Regions from separate parts of the Homo sapiens genome. Here regions 2, 3, 4 and 5 are each linked to region 1. The links are contacts of gene promoters, found by promoter capture Hi-C in blood cells and fetal thymus (Javierre and others, 2016). All regions are on one chromosome and are shown on one strand. Each heading gives the region's core, a stretch centred on a gene start or on the middle of the fragment in contact. The rest is flanking DNA. Distances are from core to core; before and after follow the strand shown.

Region 1 (3,811 bases), core at 223-2,722:
GGGGAGAGGCAGGAGCGGGGTCCTGTCAGTTTGTTTTCTCTTAGTTCTTTCTGACCCCTGACAGAATGTCCAGGCACATTCCTCAGAAGGTCACGAGGCCATAGGGCTAGAGAACCCTGCAGGCCCCTCAGGAGGTCACCAGAGCATGCCCTCTGCCCAGAGACTGGGGCACTCTCCCCGAACTCCTCAAGGCTACTGCTTTCAAGCAGTTCAAAGAGAAAAAGAAGGAATCATTAAGAGAAATCCAGCCAATCTCATCACTCTGCTTCGGGAAGACCTTGTTCTTGGGCCAAGATTTAGTGGATTCATCTAATCCTTTCATGGAAGGAATTAAAATGGAACACCTGGCTATTTGCTTTATTTTTATCTGAAGCCACTTGCCATCACTTGAGGATAATTATGTTGAATTTTGTTTCATTCTTGATATCCCACACAAAATTTCCTCAACTCCAGAAATCACTTTTCCATAATTAAGAGCATAGATTCTAGAGCCAGATTGCCTGGACCCATATCCTAGTTCAGCTACAAGTTATGAACCTTATTCCTGCCTCAGTTTCCCCAAGTGTAAATGAGGATAATTATTTTTTCTACTCCATTGACGTGTTATGGGGCTTCAGCAAGCTGGTTACATGAGGTATTTAGAACAAGGTGAATAGCGAGTGCTCAGTGAAGACTGGCTGTTATTCACTCCCTTACTGCAGAGCACCTGACCCGGAACTGTTTGAATTACAATATAGAGGAAGTGCCGTCTCACCCAGCAAGGCAGTCAGAACCTACCAATCAACTGAAACATTCACCGAGGGCCAATTGTGTCCCTGTGGGTTCTGTTCTAGCCATTGGAAATACTAAATCCAATACAGAGTGGCCCCCATCCTCAAGAAACCTACAGCCTGGTGAGAAAACTAGACACCATCTCTTCCTTAACATGCACAATGGTGTGGTTTGTACCGTGCTATACTATGAAATGTCCTCACAGCCCCTCAACAGGTACCTGGAACAGGTATCATCCTCCCCACTTCCTGCATGATAATAAAATGCTTATCAGGAAACACCGTTTGCTTATTACGTGTCATTGGCACCTTAGCATAGGAGGTCATCTTTCAATAAGTTAACCTAGAGGGAAGGGGAGATGTTGTCTAAGTAGGCCCTGTTTTCGTCCTGCAGTGATGGGTTGTAACGAACTCAATGTTTGTGTTAGGTTTGGAGGAGACCAGCCTGTCTACATCAACATCATTAGAGACCCCGTCAACCGGTTCTTATCCAACTATTTTTTCCGTCGCTTTGGAGACTGGAGAGGGGAACAAAATCACATGATCCGCACCCCCAGCATGAGGCAGGAGGAGCGCTACCTGGTAAGTCCTGTCGCATGCAAAAGGCGGTCTCCCCACTGCCTGAGGAGTGGGCCCTCCACCAGGGAAGGTTCACTCTTCCCTTCCCAGGCCTTCTCCTTGGCGCCTCCATGGAGCGTGGCGCAGAGAGGGTGCTTCCGCAGGAAGGAGGTCTTGGCGAGAGAAACTGGTTCCGGGTGACCCAGATCCTAATGAACATTTCCTCAAATTATTTTCTGATTTTGCTTTGCTCAGTTGTCTTTAGTGCTAGGTTTTGGGACCCAGAGCGTTAACAGTCTTTCCTAAGGAGTCCTGACTAGCACTGTAGTGCTTAAGAAGAACAAAGGTGTTGGGGGGGTGTCTGTTAGAGGGCGGCAGAGCCCCTTCTCATCCCTCAGCCCATTCAGTTCCCATGACCACTCTGGGAGGGGGAGGTGTTTTCAGATGAGGACCCTGAGATTCTAAAGGTTGTGGGATTTGCCACAGTCACCTCTCAGGTAAGGGCGCAACTGCGACCGACTGTTTCGGGTTTCCTGCCTTCACAGTCTGGGTTCTTTCCACCACAGCGCGATAGAACCCTGTCATTGCACCAGTAATTGTTTGCTTTCTCTGGACTTGTTTTGGGACCCTCAGCTCCATAAGGGATGTTAGTCTCGAGCCCAGTAATTATTTCCGCAGCACAGAGGTTGGTAACAAAAACGGAGGGCGGAGTTGCGCGTCTTTCTTTCAGCACTAGAACGAAAGGTACATTTCCCATCCCTGTGTTGAGAAACATGTACTGAGGAGCTGACAGCCTGGTGCCCAGGAGGCTGAAATCCTGGTCTCTGTGTCTGAGAGAGCCCTTGGGGTTCACCCGGACCCATCCTGGGCTGTTGTCGGGCACAAGCAGGAAAGTAGGAAGTGTTGAGGATCAGTCAGAGGTGTTGTTCCCAAAGCTGGAAGATCGCCCAGAGCTGAGGCCACTGCTGATGTGCCGTCAGCAGCAGCCTTGCCGCTGGAGAAAAGCACCGAATCTCAGGGCCACGGCCAGGACGGCTGCTTCCTCATCTCATTTTAAAAACATAATGGAAGTGGATGTTCAGAGGCTGGGAGCATTTGGGGATGATGTCCCCTCAGTGTCACGTTCATGTTTTCAAATCCATGATTAGAGTAGAGAAAACTGAGATACAGAGAAGTTAGTGTCTCAGCCAGGGCCAGACGACTACACCAGACCCACGGCTTTCCACTCACCTTCGGTATTTGATCAACTACCTAAGGCTTCAGTGAAATATTTTGATGATTTTATTTTTATTTTTATTTTCTTCCTTTGATGATATATTTTAAAAGTGGCTTTTCCCTTTTTTTTTTTTTTTTTTTTTAGTTTTTATGGCGAAACCCTAATCTATTTCTTTATAGGTTATGAGGCCGGGCGCAGTGGCTCACGCCTGTAATCCCAGCACTTTGGGAGGCCGAGGCAGGTGCATCACTTGAGGCCAGGAGATCGAGACCAGCCTGGCCAACATGGTGAAAACCTGTCTTTATTAAAAATACAAAAATTAGCCGAGCATGGTGGCGCATGCCTGTGATCCCAGCGAATTGGGAGGCTGAGGCAGGAGAATCCTTTGAATCCGGGAGGCAGAGGTTGCAGTGAGCCAAGATCGTGCTACTGCACTCCAGCCTAGGTGCCAGACCGAGACTCCATCTCAAAAAATAATAATAATAATAATTAAATAAAATAAAAAACTATAGGTTATGAATATGACTATATGTTTTTTATTTGGTGAGACGTGTATTCAGAGTATAGAAACACTACAAGAATAATGTCTTCTCTAATTATCTTTATTATTTGTTTTGGATCTTGATTAATATATCTATATGCTCTTTAAAAACAGCATACATTCCATTTAATCCAGACAATTTTTTCATAGTTCTGATTCAATCCTCATGCTAAGAAAGTTAGAACCAAAGGACAGCAGAAAATGCCAAAAAACCAACAATACAGAAACACGTCTTATGAACACTACTCTTCAAATATTAATGTAAGAGTTAAGAGGAATGCTCTAGCTTCTTCCGTTCTGTCAAGCTTCTGTTGCCATCCTGTAAATCATTTCATATAATGCAGTTTTCACACACTCACACAAATAATAAGCTGCAATCATTAGAGAGAAAGGTGGCAAATGTGAGGGGAAAAAATTATGGTTTGGAGTTTCCATTTGTTCGTTTTTGTTTTTGTTTTGAGACACAGTCTTGCTCTGTTGCCCAGGCTGGAGCGCAGTGGCAAGATCTCTGCTCACTGCAACCTCCACCTCCGGGGTTCAAGCGATTCTCCTGCTTCAGCCTCCCCAGCAGCTAGGACTACAGGTGCTTCCCACCACGCCTGGTTAATTTTTGTATTTTTAGTAGAGGCGGGGGTTTCACCATGTTGGCCAGGCTGGTCTCGAACTCCTGACCTAAAATGATCCACCCACCTCAGCCTCCCAAAGTGCTGAGATTACAGGTGTGAG
Region 2 (3,766 bases), core at 389-2,888, 260 kb before region 1:
TTAAAGTTTTTTGTAGAAATGAGGGGTCTCACTTTGTTGTCTAGACTGGTCTCAAACTTCTGGCTTCCAAGGATCCTCCCCTGGCTTCCAAGGATCCTCCCCTATGTTAACTCTCTTCATCTTCACAGCAACCTTATAGAGTACATGCTATTAACACCCTGAGGTTATGGATGAAGAAACAGGTGCAGCGAATGGGTGATTTGCCTAAGGTTGGGCAACAAATCAGAAACAGGTAGGATTTGAGCCCAGGAATCCTGGTATCAGAGTCTGTACTCAGAAATGCTAGGCAGAGAGAAAATTCTTGAACTTTGAGAGTAGGCTGTTAAAATGTGATTATTCAACAAGAAATTTCTCTTCTAAATAAATTATTTAGATGTTAAAAATTCTTCTGACATGAGCAAATACTCTTGACAATAGTTCAGAGAATCTAGGTCAGACCTTTTACTCTGCTAACCTAGTTCTTCACTAAAAAGCAACATCTACTACCGTTATTACCAATAATTAAAATAATAATGGCAATGACTTCATGGACCTGCTGCTTATAAACTTCACTGATATGATAGTATAGTAAATATAATTTGTTCAGAATTAGGAGGCTGACCTCTAGTGTCATGATTTTAATTAGCTGGATGTTAATAAATATTGGGATAGTTTTTAGTGCTGTAAGTTTTTTTTTTTTAATAAAAAGTCTTCTCCTTGAATACTTGTGATTTTTTTCATTCTTTTTTCTTTTCTTCCCTTAAGAAAGCAAATATTTATTTCACATACAGAGAAATTAGTCACTCTGTTTTCATTGTTCCTTTATTTTTACATCTCTAATTTAATCTTGTATTAATTCCCAAAAGCAATTGTGCAATTTTGGGTTTTTCTGAAATACGTCTCATTCATTCCCTAAAGCTTTGGAAATGCTCCATGGTGCTCCTTTCCCCAAGCCTTTTTGCATTTTAAAAAATTCCCTTTCTGTTTTAGAGCCAAACTTTGCCCTTGTCCCAAACTTCTATATTTTAAAAATACTCTTGTCTTATTTTCTAATGATTGGGTGAATTTCATTTCTACCACTTTTCTATTTTTTTTTCCCTGGATTGTTTTGGTGATTCAATTTCTGGGCTCCAAATATATAGTTGCCAGATTTTTACTGCTATTGGCCATAAAATCCTGCCCAGTCACTGGGCTGTAAAAAAGCAGATGCAAAATTGCTCCTACTGTCGGCTGCCAGCTGTGTAGTCCCGCAGCCAGAGGCAGAGAGGCCGTATTCCCCCCACTTTCCTTAGATTCAGGAGCCTGTTCAATACGCATTGCCTATGTCACGACCTGCATAGCTGCCTGTCAGTAACCGCCTAGGGCTCTTATTTGTGTAAATAAGTTAGTTTCATTTTCATTTTGTTTGAACTTCCACATTGCCACTACATAGAGAATGTTTTCTTTATCTTTTCCTACTGAGTTGTAAATAATTGTTACCCTAATCTTGCAGATACAATGATGCTGCCTTGATTCTGGTGTGTTAGGTTCAGTTCACAGGAGCTACTCTCCTTTTCAAAGCAAGCAGCATCAGCACACTGATTCTTGGCTGGAATTCGGAGACCCGGAGACCTGGGCAGGAGACAGAAGCAGCATTGTATGAAAGGATGAAAGAGAGACAAGAGGCAGCATCCTGGGTGTGAAACGAAAATAATATCATCTGTCTTGTCCAAATGAACTGGCAATGCAAGGGGGCCAACCATAGAAAGAATCTATGTGGTAAGCAATGGAGTAGAAACCAGATCAGATGAACGGCCAAAATGCATGTTTATTTTCTCATTGGATTCTCATGGTCTCACCTCCATGGAGAGACAGAACTAGAATTTGACCCATGCAGTGTGACCAGAGGGCCTGGACGCCAAGTCTCTGCTTGACTGCCCTGGTTTACGGTCTTTGAGAGGTTATTTTCTGCCCAAGAGCATCCATTAGTACATGGGAATCCAGACTTGGAACATGCTCTGTCTGGCTCCAGAGTCCTCTAGGTTTTCAAATATTCTACTGAGATTGAGGCAAAGGCTCAGGAAGCATCCCCTGAGCTGGAAAGGGCTGCTGTAATTGGTTTTCATAGGACACCTGTATAGTGGGCTGTTGACCCAGCTTGTACACAGTCTCAGTGAGGGTGATTTTTTTAAGGCTTATTTGTGTTTTTGCTTATATCATGGCCCTTTAGAATACTCATTTGATTGCCTTGTAGTGGTTGTTATTTTTCATTTATTTTGAGTGGGTATGTTATTTTCCTTTCTGGCTGCTTCTTTTCCTGCCATTTTGGGGTTTGACCCAATCTACTACAAAATATAGATGTTCCTAGTATTTTTTTTCATGTATTTAAGCCTCTTCTAGTGTGTTCATGTGTTTAATGTCAAAGCTTCTGTCTTACCCCAAAGTTTATATGGTTATATGATTATATCTCTCCCTTTACCCTTTCTTTGGAATCGATTTTTAAAAAATTAATAGACTTCATTTCTTTTAGCAATTTTAGGCTTACAGAAAAACTGGGCAGAAAATACAGAGCTCCTATATTCACCTTCCCCACTCCCACACACCGTTTGTGGAAAAGACTATCTTTTTTCCACTAAATTGACTTTTCTCATTCATCAAATATCAGTTGACCTTATTTGTTTGGATCTATTTCTAGGCTCTGTACTCTGCTCCACTTATCTGTCTATTCTTTCACCAATACCATGCTGTCTTGATTATTGTAGCTTTATAGTACTTCCTGGAGTTGGATAGTGTAAGGCCTCTGATTGTATTCTTTTCTTTCTTACTTAATGAAACCCAATACTGGGTTGGCTATTCTGGGTCTTTTGCCTTTCCATACAAACTTTAGAACTAGTTTGTCAAAATTAAAAAAAATTTTTAAACCTTTACTGGTATTTGGATTGTAATTTCATTTAATCTATAGATCCAGTTGGGAAGAAGGGATATTTGACAATATTAAATCTTATCCATGTCCATGGTGTATCTCTCCATTTATTCATATATTCTTTGGTTTCTTTCATCAGAGGTTTATAGCTTTTATCATATAAATCTTATACATATTTTGTTAGATTTATACCCATTTTTTGGTGTGAATGTAAATGGCATTATTTCTTAATTTCAAATTCCAGTTGTTCATTGTTGATATGTAAGAAAGCAATTAACTTTTAAATATTAATCTTGTATCTGCCAACGTTTACATAATAGCTTACTAATTCCAGAAGGGGATTTTTGTTGTTGCTGATTCTTTCGGATTTTCTACACAGACAATCATACCATCTATATACGAAGACAGCTTTATTTCTTTCTTCCCAATCTGTATGCTTTTAATTTCTTTTTCTTGTCTTATTGCACTAGTTAGGACTTCCAGCATGATCTAAAATAAGACTGGTGAGAGCAGATATCCTTGCCTTCCTAAATTAAAAGGAAAGCATCTAGTTTCTCTTCATTAAGTATGAAGTTAGCTGTAGATTTTTTGTACATGTCCTTTATCAGTTTGAGAAAGTTTCCCTCTATTCCTAGTTTGCTTGGAGTTTTTACCGTAAGTGGATGGTGGATTTTGTTAAATTCTTTTTCTGCATCTATTGATATGATCATATAATTTTTCTTCTTTAGCCTGTTGTTGTGATTGAATACATTATGATTTTCAAACATTGAACTAGTCCTGCATATCTGGAGTAAATCCCATTTGGTCATGGTGTATTGTTTGTTTTATACATTGTTGGATTCAATTTACTAATATTTTGTTGACGATTTTTGCATCCATTTTCCT
Region 3 (3,650 bases), core at 26-2,525, 330 kb before region 1:
GCATATTGTACTAGGAGCCTCTTGTTTGCTTTGCAGGTTACACCAAAGCCAAGAGCATCCTGGAGAGCCAGCAACTCTTGGGTCCTAACACAGCTCTTCAAGAAGTACTCTTCCATGTATCCACTCACAAATGCACATCAGATTCCCACTGTGTGAAGTACATTGTGCTGGGGGCTGGGGAAGACAAATGAGTTTAAACACACAAATCCTTGTTCTAGAGGAGAGTTTTATTTGTAGGGGAGACACCCATACTTACAAATAGATAGAATGAAAGTAAAAGAAAAATCAATGACACGAGACACATTCATTTTCTCTTTCAACAAATTTTATCAATCATTGTCTGCCAGACACTGTTTGCCTTGCTAAGGAGTTGAGACTTCATCCTGTGGGCACTGGAAGCCATTAAAATGTTTAAACAGGGACTAGCATGTAAAGATTGTGCTTTGGAAGGGCATGTCTCTTGTAAAGAAGATTAGAGTCAAAGCAACCAAATAAAAGTTGTTTCAGTAATCAAGGCAAGAGACAATAAGTCTGAGGAGTAGAAGTAAAGAGAAGCCAGTAAGATTAAGTAAGTACCACTGGAGAATGTTGCCATTAATTAGATGCGAGAAGGGGGAAGAGGAGGGAAAACCCCTGCTGTAGGAACTTCACGGAAGGATGTGAGCCTATGTTTGCAGGAGATCTGGACATAGCATTGGCAGATAAAACTGGTATCTTAGTTCCAGTTAAGGCAAGAAGTGAAGAGAGCTTAAGGATCTTAAGTTTAAGAATTTTAACTTCTTAAGTTTAAGAACTTCCAGTGAGAAGCTTAGGAGAGTTTCCTTACTGTAAAATTAGGCAATGTTACCACAACAGCTCATGAGCCATTAGTGAGTCAAGACATCAATTTAGTAGGTTTTGACCTGCATCATTTTCAATTTTTAAAGCAGCTTTGTTGAGGCAAAATTTCCACACCATAACAATCACCCATGGTAAGTGTACAATTCAGTGATTTGTAGTAAATTTACTTATAAAGCCATTACCACAATCCAGTATTAAGACATTTCCAACACCCCAAAAAGTTTCCTCCTGCCCATTTGCAGTTCATCTCTGCTTCCATATTTCAGCCATAGGCAACCACCGGTTTGCTTTCTGTCTCCTTAAGTGTGCCTTTTCTGGATATCTTATTTTTATTTTATTTTTTGGTGCGATCTTGGCTTACTGCAAACTCTGCCTCCCAGGTTCAAGCGATTCTCCTGCCTCAGCCTCCCAAGTAGCTGGGATTACAGGCATGTGCCAGCACGCTGGGCTATTTTTTGTATTTTTAGTAGAGTCAGGGGTTTCAGCATGTTGGCCAGGCTGGTCTTGAACTCCGGACCTAAAGTGACCAACCTGCCTTGGCCTCCCAAAGTGCTGGATTACAGGCGTGAGCCACAGCACCCAGTCCTGGATATTTTAAATAAATAGAAACATACAATTTTGCAGTCTTTCATGCATGGCTTCTTTCACTTCTTTCACTGGTGTTTTTGAGGTCCATCCATGTTAACTGTGTATCAATATGTTCTTTTTATTGCTGAATAGCCCATTGTATGGATATACTGCATTATGTTATCCAACCACCAACTGACAGACATTTGGATTGTTCCCAGTTTGAGGTTAATAGAAACAATGCCGCTATGAACGTCTGTGTATAAGTCTTCGGGTAGAAATATATTCCTGTTCTCTTGAATATATCCTTAGGAGTGGAATTGCTGTGTCATATGAAAAGCTTATATTTAACTTTTTAAGGAACTGCTAAATTATTTTCCAAGTGGTTGTACCATTTTACATTTCCACACGCAATGTATGATTGTTTTAGTTGCTTCACATCCTTCAGTTGGTATTGTTAGTCTTTCTGATTACAGTTTTTCTAGTGGGTGTGTATGTAGTGGTATCTCATTGTAGTCCTAATTTCCCTCATGACTGATGTGGTTGAGCACATTTTCACGTGCTCAGTGATCATTCACATATGGTCAAATCTTTTGTGCATTTTGTAATTGGGTTCTTAATCTGATTATTGAACTATGAGAGTCCCTGATATATTTCTTTATCAGACATGTTTTTTAAAAATGTAACAAAATTAAATTTAACAGTTTAATTGGGCAAAGAACGATTTGCGAATTGGACAGTCTCCTGAGCCAGGGTAGGCTCAGAGACTCCAGCACAGACACATGGTGGAAGAAGATTTATGGACAGAGAAAGGAAAGCAAGGTACAGAAAACAGAAGTTAGGTACAGAAACAGCTGGATTGGTTACAGCTCCGTCTTTGCCTTATTTGAACACAGTTTGAACAGCTGGCCACCTTTGATTGGCCAAAACTCAGTGATTGGCACAAGTGGTGGCTACAGTCTGTATACAACTCCATTCAGGCTACGATACACTATAGCTCAGGAGGTACAGAGAAACCCTTAGGCCAAACTTAAAATATGAAGGAGGCAGCTTTAGGCTAAATTTGATTTAACAGCTACATGATTAGCGAATATTTTCTTCCAGTCTGAGCCATATCTTTTCATTTTATTGATGATGTCTTTTGAAGCACAATTTTATTTTTTTATTTTTATTTATTTATTTTTTTTGAGGCGAAGTCTCGCTCTGCCTCCCAGGCTGGAGTGCAGTGGCGCGATCTCGGCTCACTGCAAGCTCCGCCTCCGGGGTTCATGCCATTCTCCTGCCTCAGCCTCCTGAGTAGCTGGGACTACAGGCGCCCGCCACCATGCCCAGCTAATTTTTTGTATCTTTAGTAGAGATGGGGTTTCACCGTGTTAGCCACGATGGTCTCAATCTCCTGACCTCGTGATCCGCCGGCCTCGGCCTCCCAAAGTGCTGGGATTACAGGCACGAGCCACCGCTCCCGGCCAAAGCACAAACATTTTTAATTTTGATTTTGTTCAATTTATCAATTCTTTAAAGAAAATTTATCTAAAAAAATTTCTTCCCAACTCAACGTCCCAAAGATTTACTCTTATGTTTTCTTCAAGAAGTTTTATAGTTTTCAGTTACATTTAGGTCTATAATTTGTTTTGAGTTAAATGTTGTATATGATATGAATAAGGATATAACTTCATTTTTCTTTGCATGTGGATATGCAATTGTCCCACAACCAATTTTTTTTTAAAAAAGAGAAGACACCAGAACGCATTGCACATTATTTTACTAATCTTTTATATATTCCATGTGTTTTCTGAGTTGTGAAAAAGGAAAGAATTTGTTTTGTTGGTTTGAGTTTACAACATCTTTAAAGCTTCTGCAATATGGCCTTCAGAGTGTATGGTGCAAAGAGTTGGGAAGAAAGAAAAGGAGGTAGGGAGCATTTGAGAGCTATGGTCATGAGAGAGGAAGCCCAGTGTCAGGTATTACATTGAGGACCATGACCAAGCATAGAGTAATGTGAGCTGGTGACAGTCCTGTAATGGGGGCTTCGGGCTCTGGATAAAAGCCAGCCAGAAGGGAAAGAAATCTGTTAAAGTGCAATGAAGATAAGCTGGGCACAGTTGCATGTACCTGTAGTCCCAGCTACTTGGGAGGCTAAGGCAGGAGAATTTCTTGAGCTCAGGAGTTTGAGACCAACTTGGGCAATGTAGTGAGACCCCCTCTGTGCCCCAGCAAAAAAATCCACTGTATCATGAGAAATT
Region 4 (3,764 bases), core at 339-2,838, 320 kb before region 1:
AATTTATAATCTGAAACTGCAATTACTTTTGCACTAACCTAGTTTTGCCTTTTTCAGAATTTTATATAAATGGAATTATAGAGTCTATAGGCATTTGTTTCTGCTTTCTTTTACTTAGCATAATACTTATGACACTCATTCGTCTTTATCAATAGTTTATTTCTTTTTGTTTCTGAGTGGTACATCTTTGTATTGGTCCTCCACCAGTTATTTATTCCTTTACCTGTTGATGGACATTTGGGTTCTGTCCAGTTATGGGCTATTAAGAGTAAAGCTGCTATGAAGATTATGTACAAGTCTTTGTGTGGGCACATGCTTTCATTTCTCTTAGGCAATACCTAAGATTGAAATGGCAGCATAGTAGAACAGGTTTATGGGTTTTGTTTGTTTGTTTGTTTGTTTTTTGGAGTTTCTGCTCTTGTTGCCCAGGCTATGAGTGCATGAGTACAATGGTGCGATCTCAGCTCACTACAACCTCTGCCTCCTGGATTCAAGCAATTCTCCTACCTCAGCCTCCCGAGTAGCTGGAATTACAGGCATGCACCACCATGCCCAGCTAATTTTTGTATTTTTAGTAGTGATGGGGTTTCACCATGTTGGTCAGGCTGGTCTTGAACTCCCGACCCCAGGTAATCTGCCTGCCTAAGCCTCCCAAATTGCTAGGATTACAGGCATGAGCCACTGTGCCCGGCCAGGTTTGTTTTTAAAAAACTGACAGTTTTCCAGTGGTGTTCCAGGTTATGTTCCCACAGTGTATGATCATTCCAATTGCTCTGCTTCCTCACCAACACTAGGTATGATTGGCCTTTTTAATTAGAACCATATTTATGAGTGTGTAGTGATATCTCATTGTGGTTTTGATTTACATTTCCTTTATAAACAACAATGTTGAACATCTATCTTATGTGCTTATTTTCCTTCTCTATATCTTATTTGATTAAGTTTCTGTTTAAATCTTTTGCCCATTTTTATTTGGATTATTTGTCTTATTATTGAATTGTGTGAGTTATTTATATATTTCAGATACAAATTCTGTATCTGAAAATATTTGAAAATATTTTGTTAGTCTGTGGCTTACCTTTTCATATCCTTAAATTTCTTTTGAGGACCAAGAGTTTTTACTTTTGATGAAATCCAATTTTTTTTATTTTATACTTTGTACTTTTATGTCCTAATTATAAAAAGCTTTTTTTTTTTAAGAACTGATGTTTATTTTCCAACAACCTTATTTCCATTTTGCTTAGGAGCCTGTGGAAAATGGCTTAAGACCGACCACTCAGTGGTTTTTCATACCCATTCAGTGGCCCAAGCAGTGGGAGCTGTGGACCAGTCTTCCATGGCAGGCTGAGTGCTCTAGTCTTCAGTAGGGACCTGCTGAACAGACACAGGGGGCACCTGTGTGACCTGCACACCTTCAAAGCAGGCTGCAACCTCAGGCTGAGTAGCAGTACACTCAGGAGCCAGGGCAGTCCCTTCACCCTGAAATTCCTCCTTAGCCTCAGCTTTTTTAGCAGCAGCCTGCTCTTTCTTTCTAATCTCCTTGGGATCTCTGTAGACATAGAGATCAGGCACGACCTCCTATGGGTGTTCACAGGAGATGGTGCCATGCATATGCAGAACTTCCAGGCTGGCATCTTCCACATCAGACCCACTGAGTGAGTGCCCTTGTTGTTGCAGGGGATGGCAATGTCCACAGCGCAGACGAGAATCTGTGTGACCCAAAGCAATGGTAGGCAGGTTAGCATAAGACACCTCTGTGAGAGGCTGGTGGTCAGCTCTGGGATCAGTAATTGCCAAGAGCCATGGCTCCCAGAAGGCTGCCTGGGTCTGGTTAGTGAAAGTTTCAAGAGTGAAACAATGAAACAGCCAGCAATAGGAGTGACTCCAGTGGCAGCAGCAAACTTCAGCACAGCCCACTGGCCAGTATTCTGGAGGGCGTGACACTGACATCAGCACAGTTTTCAATGGCAACAATGGCGCCAGCTGCCAGAAGAAGCTTCTCCCAGGTCCTGTTCAGATTTAGGAAGCAGATGCTTTCACTTTTCCTTTTATAGGTGTACTGTTCCATTTGGAAGTCGAGGTTGATGCCACCTAATTGGGTCCCTGCTGCAAGAAACTTGAGGACATCCTCCTCCTTCATTTGCAGGATATCAAGGGCTCCAGACGTTGTGAAAGTTTCCCTTGAAGTTACAATGGAATCCAGAACAATGCCATATGGACCCTCCTCTGGGTATCCAGAAAGCCTAATTATGAAAACTTTAGCTAACTTGTGACTGCTTGGATTTTCTCTGATGTCTTCTAGAAGTTTTATGCTGTTGACTCTTACCTTAAGGTCTTTATCTATTTTGAATCAATTTTTCTTTATGGTGTGAGGTAAGAAACAAGGGTAATTTTTTAGCATATAAATATCCAGTTGTTCCAGCACCAACTGTTGAAACAATTATCCTTTCCCCCATTAAATTCCCTTGGTATCTTTGTCAAGAATCTATTGACAGTGATTGCTAACAGATTTCCAGAAAGAAGAAGTGAGAAGCACAGCAGCCTACTAAGCATAACAATCGTTTTACTAAAAAAGAAGTTAAAGAAAATAGTTTTTTTTAAGTTTCTGCACATTGTTCTGAGGGCATACAGAAAATGAAGAAATATTTATTCCAGAAAATTTACTAAATCCTTGGTAACAGCATAGTCTGTATTGATAAAAGAAAAGCTTTAGCCGAATTAAATTTAAAGGAGTTTAATTGAGCAATGAATGATTTTCAAATTGGGCAGCCCACAGAATTAGAGCAAATTCACAGAGACTCCAGCACAGCCATGTAGTGGAAGAATATTTATAGACAAAAAGGGGAAATAATGTACAGAAATTGGAAGTGAGGTACAGAACGACTGGATTGGTTCCAAGTTTGTGTTTGCCTTATTTGAACACAGCTTGAACATTCAGCAGTGTATAAATGGTCGAAGTACAGCCACTGGGATTGGCCAAGACTCAGCTATTGCTCCAGGTGCATACTCCTAAGTTAGGTTTTCAATCTTGTCTGCCTACTAAACTAGGTTGCAGTTTGTTCACAAGGACTCAAATACAGAAGTACAGAGTCCTCCTCAGGCCATATTTAGTTGACTTTAACAGTGTCCTCTGAGCCATGACTGCTTCCTCCCTCCCCTCTCTAAGCTCTGACTTATGGAAACACTGCTCTGGGCACTCAACTTCAGGCAGTGAAGCCCAAGAATATGACACAGGGGATCCCTCTCCCTCCTGTGTCCCAGAATAGGGCTACAGCTTCACCCTGGGAATGCAGGCTGCTGCTGTTTCTCACTTCCCCTATGATGAGAAGCTTTGTTCTTATCATACATGACCTCCTGCATAAACTCTTTCATACAGAAGTTCTGATCATACATAGCCCAAAGGGCTGAGGCTCCCATCTTATACCCTACTCATAGGGTGGAAATACTATTTCAGAACCAGCAGATTGAGAATACTGGGGCTCCAGGTCCCTCCCCTGTCATTCCCAGGGCAGAGGTTCCACAAGGAGAAGGCAAGCTAAGAAGGCTGGAGATTATCATTCTCCCTCCATCCAGCATCCAATAGAGCAGGGATGTCACCAGGATAAGGAGGCTATTATCTACACCCAAGCTCCTGTGCAGTCTGCAGAGTTCCTGCCATAGGAGAGCAGTAGCCTTTATTAAGGACAAAGCTCTGTAGTCCTGCCCAAGGGAACTGACTCAATTAGGAAAATAGTGCAGAGAATTTCATGCCTAAGGGTGTTGTA
Region 5 (3,913 bases), core at 412-2,911, 280 kb before region 1:
AAAAATTTTAAAATTGACAAATAAAAATTGTATACATTATGGGGTATGACATGATGTTTTGATATATGTGTACATTGTAGAATGGCTAAATCAAGCTATTGAACATATCCATTTCCTCACATATTTATCATTTTTTTGGTGGTGAAGGCGTTCACTTTTCAAGTATGCAATGCATTATTAGCTACAGTCACCATGTTGCACAACAGATCTCTTGAACTTATTCCTCCTGTCTAACTGAAATTTTATACCCTTTTACCAACATCTCTTTGATTCCCCCCTAATGTTTTAAGTTAAAACTATGACTTTAACATGGAAAAAATAAAGAATTAAATGAACTATTGCCATCTAACAATATTTTGGTGAAATCCACCAGCTATAAAAGCCCAACTTATAAACATCCCAAAATGCCAACAATCAGAATGAATTTAGCTGTCATCACTTACTTGCTTTAATTTTCTTCACAGTTTTTTAATGTACTTCCATGTGTCTTATGGGGACATGTGACCGATATTAGGTCACTTGTCCTCATGCCTCATTCTCTAGGAATCAAGGACTTGTCTTGCTTTAATTTTGCTGGCTTTAGCCTTGCTACTCTTCCCAGTCCTTCATCCGCCGCCAAGGTTTCCCCAGGACAGCGATGGTTTGACTTTGTTTATTCCTGCTGTTACGCATCAGGCCAGAATATGCTCAGGAGCTACAGAATTGTTTATTTAAACACACACACGTGCGTGCACACACACGTGCATACACACACATGCACACACAGGCTCACGTGCACACAAGCACACACGTGGACACACACACACACAGGCACATGTGAACGTACACACGTGTGTGCAAGCACACATGCGTGCATGGACACACACCACGCACACACACACTCGCACACACACACATTTTTTCTCTTATTAGAAAAGTAACATTTTGGAAATCTCAGGGAAAAAAATTGATAAACCAAAAGATAAAAACAATGCCACATTGAATTTCACACAGAGCTGTCTTTGTGGATATCCTTTCATTATTTTGCCTATTCGTGTGTGTGTTCCCGTGTGCACGTGTACATGTGCACATGTGATCATAAAAAACTGGACAGAATTCTGTTATTAAAAAGTCCCAATTTAAAATAGAATAGTTTGGTCTAAGTTTAAAATTACATTTTAAGATATGGCTTATTATACCATGTTTGCTTTAAAGATGACCTCTCTACAGCTTATGCTAACTCTCCAGTAGCTTCCATAAAATATTAAAAACTAGTTCTGCCTCTCCTAAAGGAAGGCACTTTTATTTTCTTACACTCATTTTAATGCCTAAAATAAGAGCTTCCTCCCTCTCCCCCAATATGGTCACTATCTTCAGGACGTACTAAATCAGGAAGCTTCTCAATTCTTTCTTCCTCTACTAGTTCCTCTTTTTGGAAGAAGTTACTTTCTTAACTGGACAGATGGAAGAGTCCAACAGGCTCTGAACTGAGCCAAAGCAGAAGTGGAATCCAACACCAGGGAGCAGGTCCACATCTCCACCTCCTCCCATTTCACCTTCCCTCGTGGTGAGCTCAGCAGGAAGGGCCTCTCCTGACTGAAACTCCCCAGCCGCATTGTCTGTGGCTGCGAGGGGAAGTCAGATTCAGCCGGGGGAGAAGAAGGAAGCCTCACTCTCCCCCTAACCCTTTGGCACTCTGTGACCTCCCATCTGTCTCCTGTTTACACAGCAAACTGATTAGAACCCAGAGGAGAGCAAGAGTATGATTAGTCAGCACCCCAAATCTCAAGAATGGTCCCTATAGGATACGCTCTGTATGTTGTAATATGCAGATATGTGCACCGTGTGTGGTGTGTTAAGTATACATTGTAGATTATACTTACATTGTAATGTGCTTGTACATTAAATTACAAGTAGATTTTTATAAATTGCACAGGGAAGTTTCAACTTCCTTTAGGGCTCCATAATTAAGCTTCCTAGAATAGCTTAGAAAACAAATTTGCAATCATGTCAAAGCTAACCTATAACTTTAGTATAAAATTTAGCAAAATACATGCTGGGTAAAGAGCCATTGAAATATACTTTAAAACCACCAACCATTCTCACTTAGGTGAGAGCAACAGGGTAAGTTTCATTTACTTAGAAGTTAGTTTTGTTGTTTTTTAGTTTAGGGCCTGGCTAAGGCTCCTTCATTCCCTCTGCATTCTTCATACCTCACGTCTGTAAATACCACGAGATGCTCCCCACATGCAACTGTCCAGAAGCATGTCATCCCATTCTCAGTCTCAAATGGACTTTGTTCTTTTCAAAGGAAGAGAGGTCTTACCTGAGGCAGAACTGCAGCCACTCCTGGGATTTAGACACTTCCGGTTACGTCTGGTGGGCAGGTAGGATGAGATGATGAAAGCCTATTTCCAGAGGCTAAGGAGGTTCCTAGGAGGTAATTCATCCTAAGGGAAGAAGGAACCGGGCACAACCAGCTTGATACCGCCATAGAGGCTTCGTGGTCAACGGTGGGGAGGAATTTGGAGCACAGTGTTGTGCCAGTTTCACAGATCTGTCATCAGTACACAAGACTCTACATCTGGGTTCTAGGAAGAGAAGGGGCTGTAAGTCATAATTGGAGCATTTATTTATTTATTTAGGCTAACACTGGGATATACTTGCTTTGCTTGGGTAATTCCCTAAAGGAATGTGATATGAGAGAGATAGGGAAGGGGACAGTGGCCAGCAGACAGTGTTGGTACCTGGAAGCTTCCCAGGCATCGCTGGTGGCAGCTGAAGCTGTGGTCGTAGGCAGAGGTCTGTGCCTACAGCAGCACTACCCAGAAGGAGACCACCAGGTCTGGAGGGTGTGGTGGGCCCTGCAGAATCTGGGTGGGGCTCTCCTGAGGCAGCATCAGGGGTGATATCCTGCAGGGGCAGGGCCAGGGCCAGCAGAGCAGTCTGCTCCCAAGGACCCTGGGGTTAAGGGATGGAATGCTTACTAATTATACTCTAAATCTGGACCTCCGGGCTCAAACTGCCAGAAGCCCAGACAGGATGGAGGGATAAGAAAAGGAAACAGGAAATACTCAGAATTAAAGAAGAAATAGAGGTGCTAAAAGACCTTCTTACTGACACAGGTATCAGAATGGATAGATGGAAGATGACCTGAAACCTGGCCAGACACATTTCTAAGCACATGTGAAATGCATATGGGGAACCCTCAAGAGGAGGCTTTTGGTAGCTGGGGACCCACATGAATAGGTAGATTCTTGTTTCACTACAACAAAAATTATATCAAAGCGAAACAAAACTTGAACACAGAAACATCTATACTGGCCTAGAAAAGTGGAGACGAGAGGGAGGGAGAGAAATTGTCAAGGATTAAATTATGTTTGCAATCTCAAAACACATTCTGCAGCAGAGCCTGGGAGTCTATGTGTCCATTTATGTAATTTAGAGTGTTTTGTTCAACCATGATTTTGCAGGTTGGGCAGAGGTGGGGTGGGAGACTGATATTCATTGTTGCACAAGATGTTTTTGAATGGCAGAAATTAATTGCTGTTCATTCCATCTCAGGTTATACTATTTTCGTAGGATAACCTGAATTCATCTCAGTGATGCATCTTCAATGGGACTGAGGTATGTGTGCTTAGAATAGACTAAGAGCAGGAATTGCAGTGTTAGAAGGACTTGTGGTTTGCTCTTGTTTGGATTACCTTCCAGAAATAAAAATAATATATAAAACTCCAGCTGCCCCTTAGCACTAACTACATTAAGTTTAAGCATTACCCAGTGATATATAAATAAAAATGCCACATTATTTTTATGGAAAGTAATTTAAAGCCCCATAAATGGAGTCATATTTATCTGTGATTCTCACTGCTGTTAAGACCCCGTCTGTATCTCCTTCATTTCAGGGAAACCTGAAGTTCCTTCAGAAATAAAA

The links. The method cuts DNA at HindIII sites, captures the fragments that hold promoters and counts their contacts. A CHiCAGO score of 5 or more calls a contact.
Region 2: a fragment that was not itself captured here is called in contact with the fragment with the promoter of UST-AS1 in region 1 in 4 of 17 cell types (naive B cells, total B cells, M0 macrophages and 1 more); the score reaches 7.5 in naive B cells.
Region 3: a fragment that was not itself captured here is called in contact with the fragment with the promoter of UST-AS1 in region 1 in 3 of 17 cell types (naive B cells, megakaryocytes and total B cells); the score reaches 8.2 in naive B cells.
Region 4: a fragment that was not itself captured here is called in contact with the fragment with the promoter of UST-AS1 in region 1 in 2 of 17 cell types (naive B cells and total B cells); the score reaches 7.5 in naive B cells.
Region 5: a contact is called between a fragment that was not itself captured here and the fragment with the promoter of UST-AS1 in region 1, in 9 of 17 cell types (naive B cells, total B cells, megakaryocytes and 6 more). The highest score is 8.7, in naive B cells.

The regions. Positions count from the first base shown.
Region 1 is chr6:148,963,212-148,967,022 of GRCh38, forward strand. It overlaps UST-AS1 (UST antisense RNA 1), which reads right to left and starts at 1,473. Exons shown (of 3, transcript NR_038408.1): 1 at 1,350-1,473. UST (uronyl 2-sulfotransferase) reads left to right here. Exons shown (of 8, transcript NM_005715.3): 5 at 1,199-1,352. RefSeq lists enhancers at 361-937, 938-1,514. The HindIII fragment of the contact is 7,762 bases long and covers 1-3,388 here.
Region 2 is chr6:148,699,654-148,703,419 of GRCh38, forward strand. No RefSeq gene overlaps it. Among named protein-coding and RNA genes, the nearest start is that of UST, 45 kb to the right of the region's middle. The HindIII fragment of the contact is 1,486 bases long and covers 896-2,381 here.
Region 3 is chr6:148,629,407-148,633,056 of GRCh38, forward strand. No RefSeq gene overlaps it. Among named protein-coding and RNA genes, the nearest start is that of UST, 120 kb to the right of the region's middle. The HindIII fragment of the contact is 940 bases long and covers 806-1,745 here.
Region 4 is chr6:148,646,431-148,650,194 of GRCh38, forward strand. It overlaps the pseudogene RPSAP40. Among named protein-coding and RNA genes, the nearest start is that of UST, 99 kb to the right of the region's middle. The HindIII fragment of the contact is 811 bases long and covers 1,184-1,994 here.
Region 5 is chr6:148,681,665-148,685,577 of GRCh38, forward strand. No RefSeq gene overlaps it. Among named protein-coding and RNA genes, the nearest start is that of UST, 63 kb to the right of the region's middle. The HindIII fragment of the contact is 576 bases long and covers 1,374-1,949 here.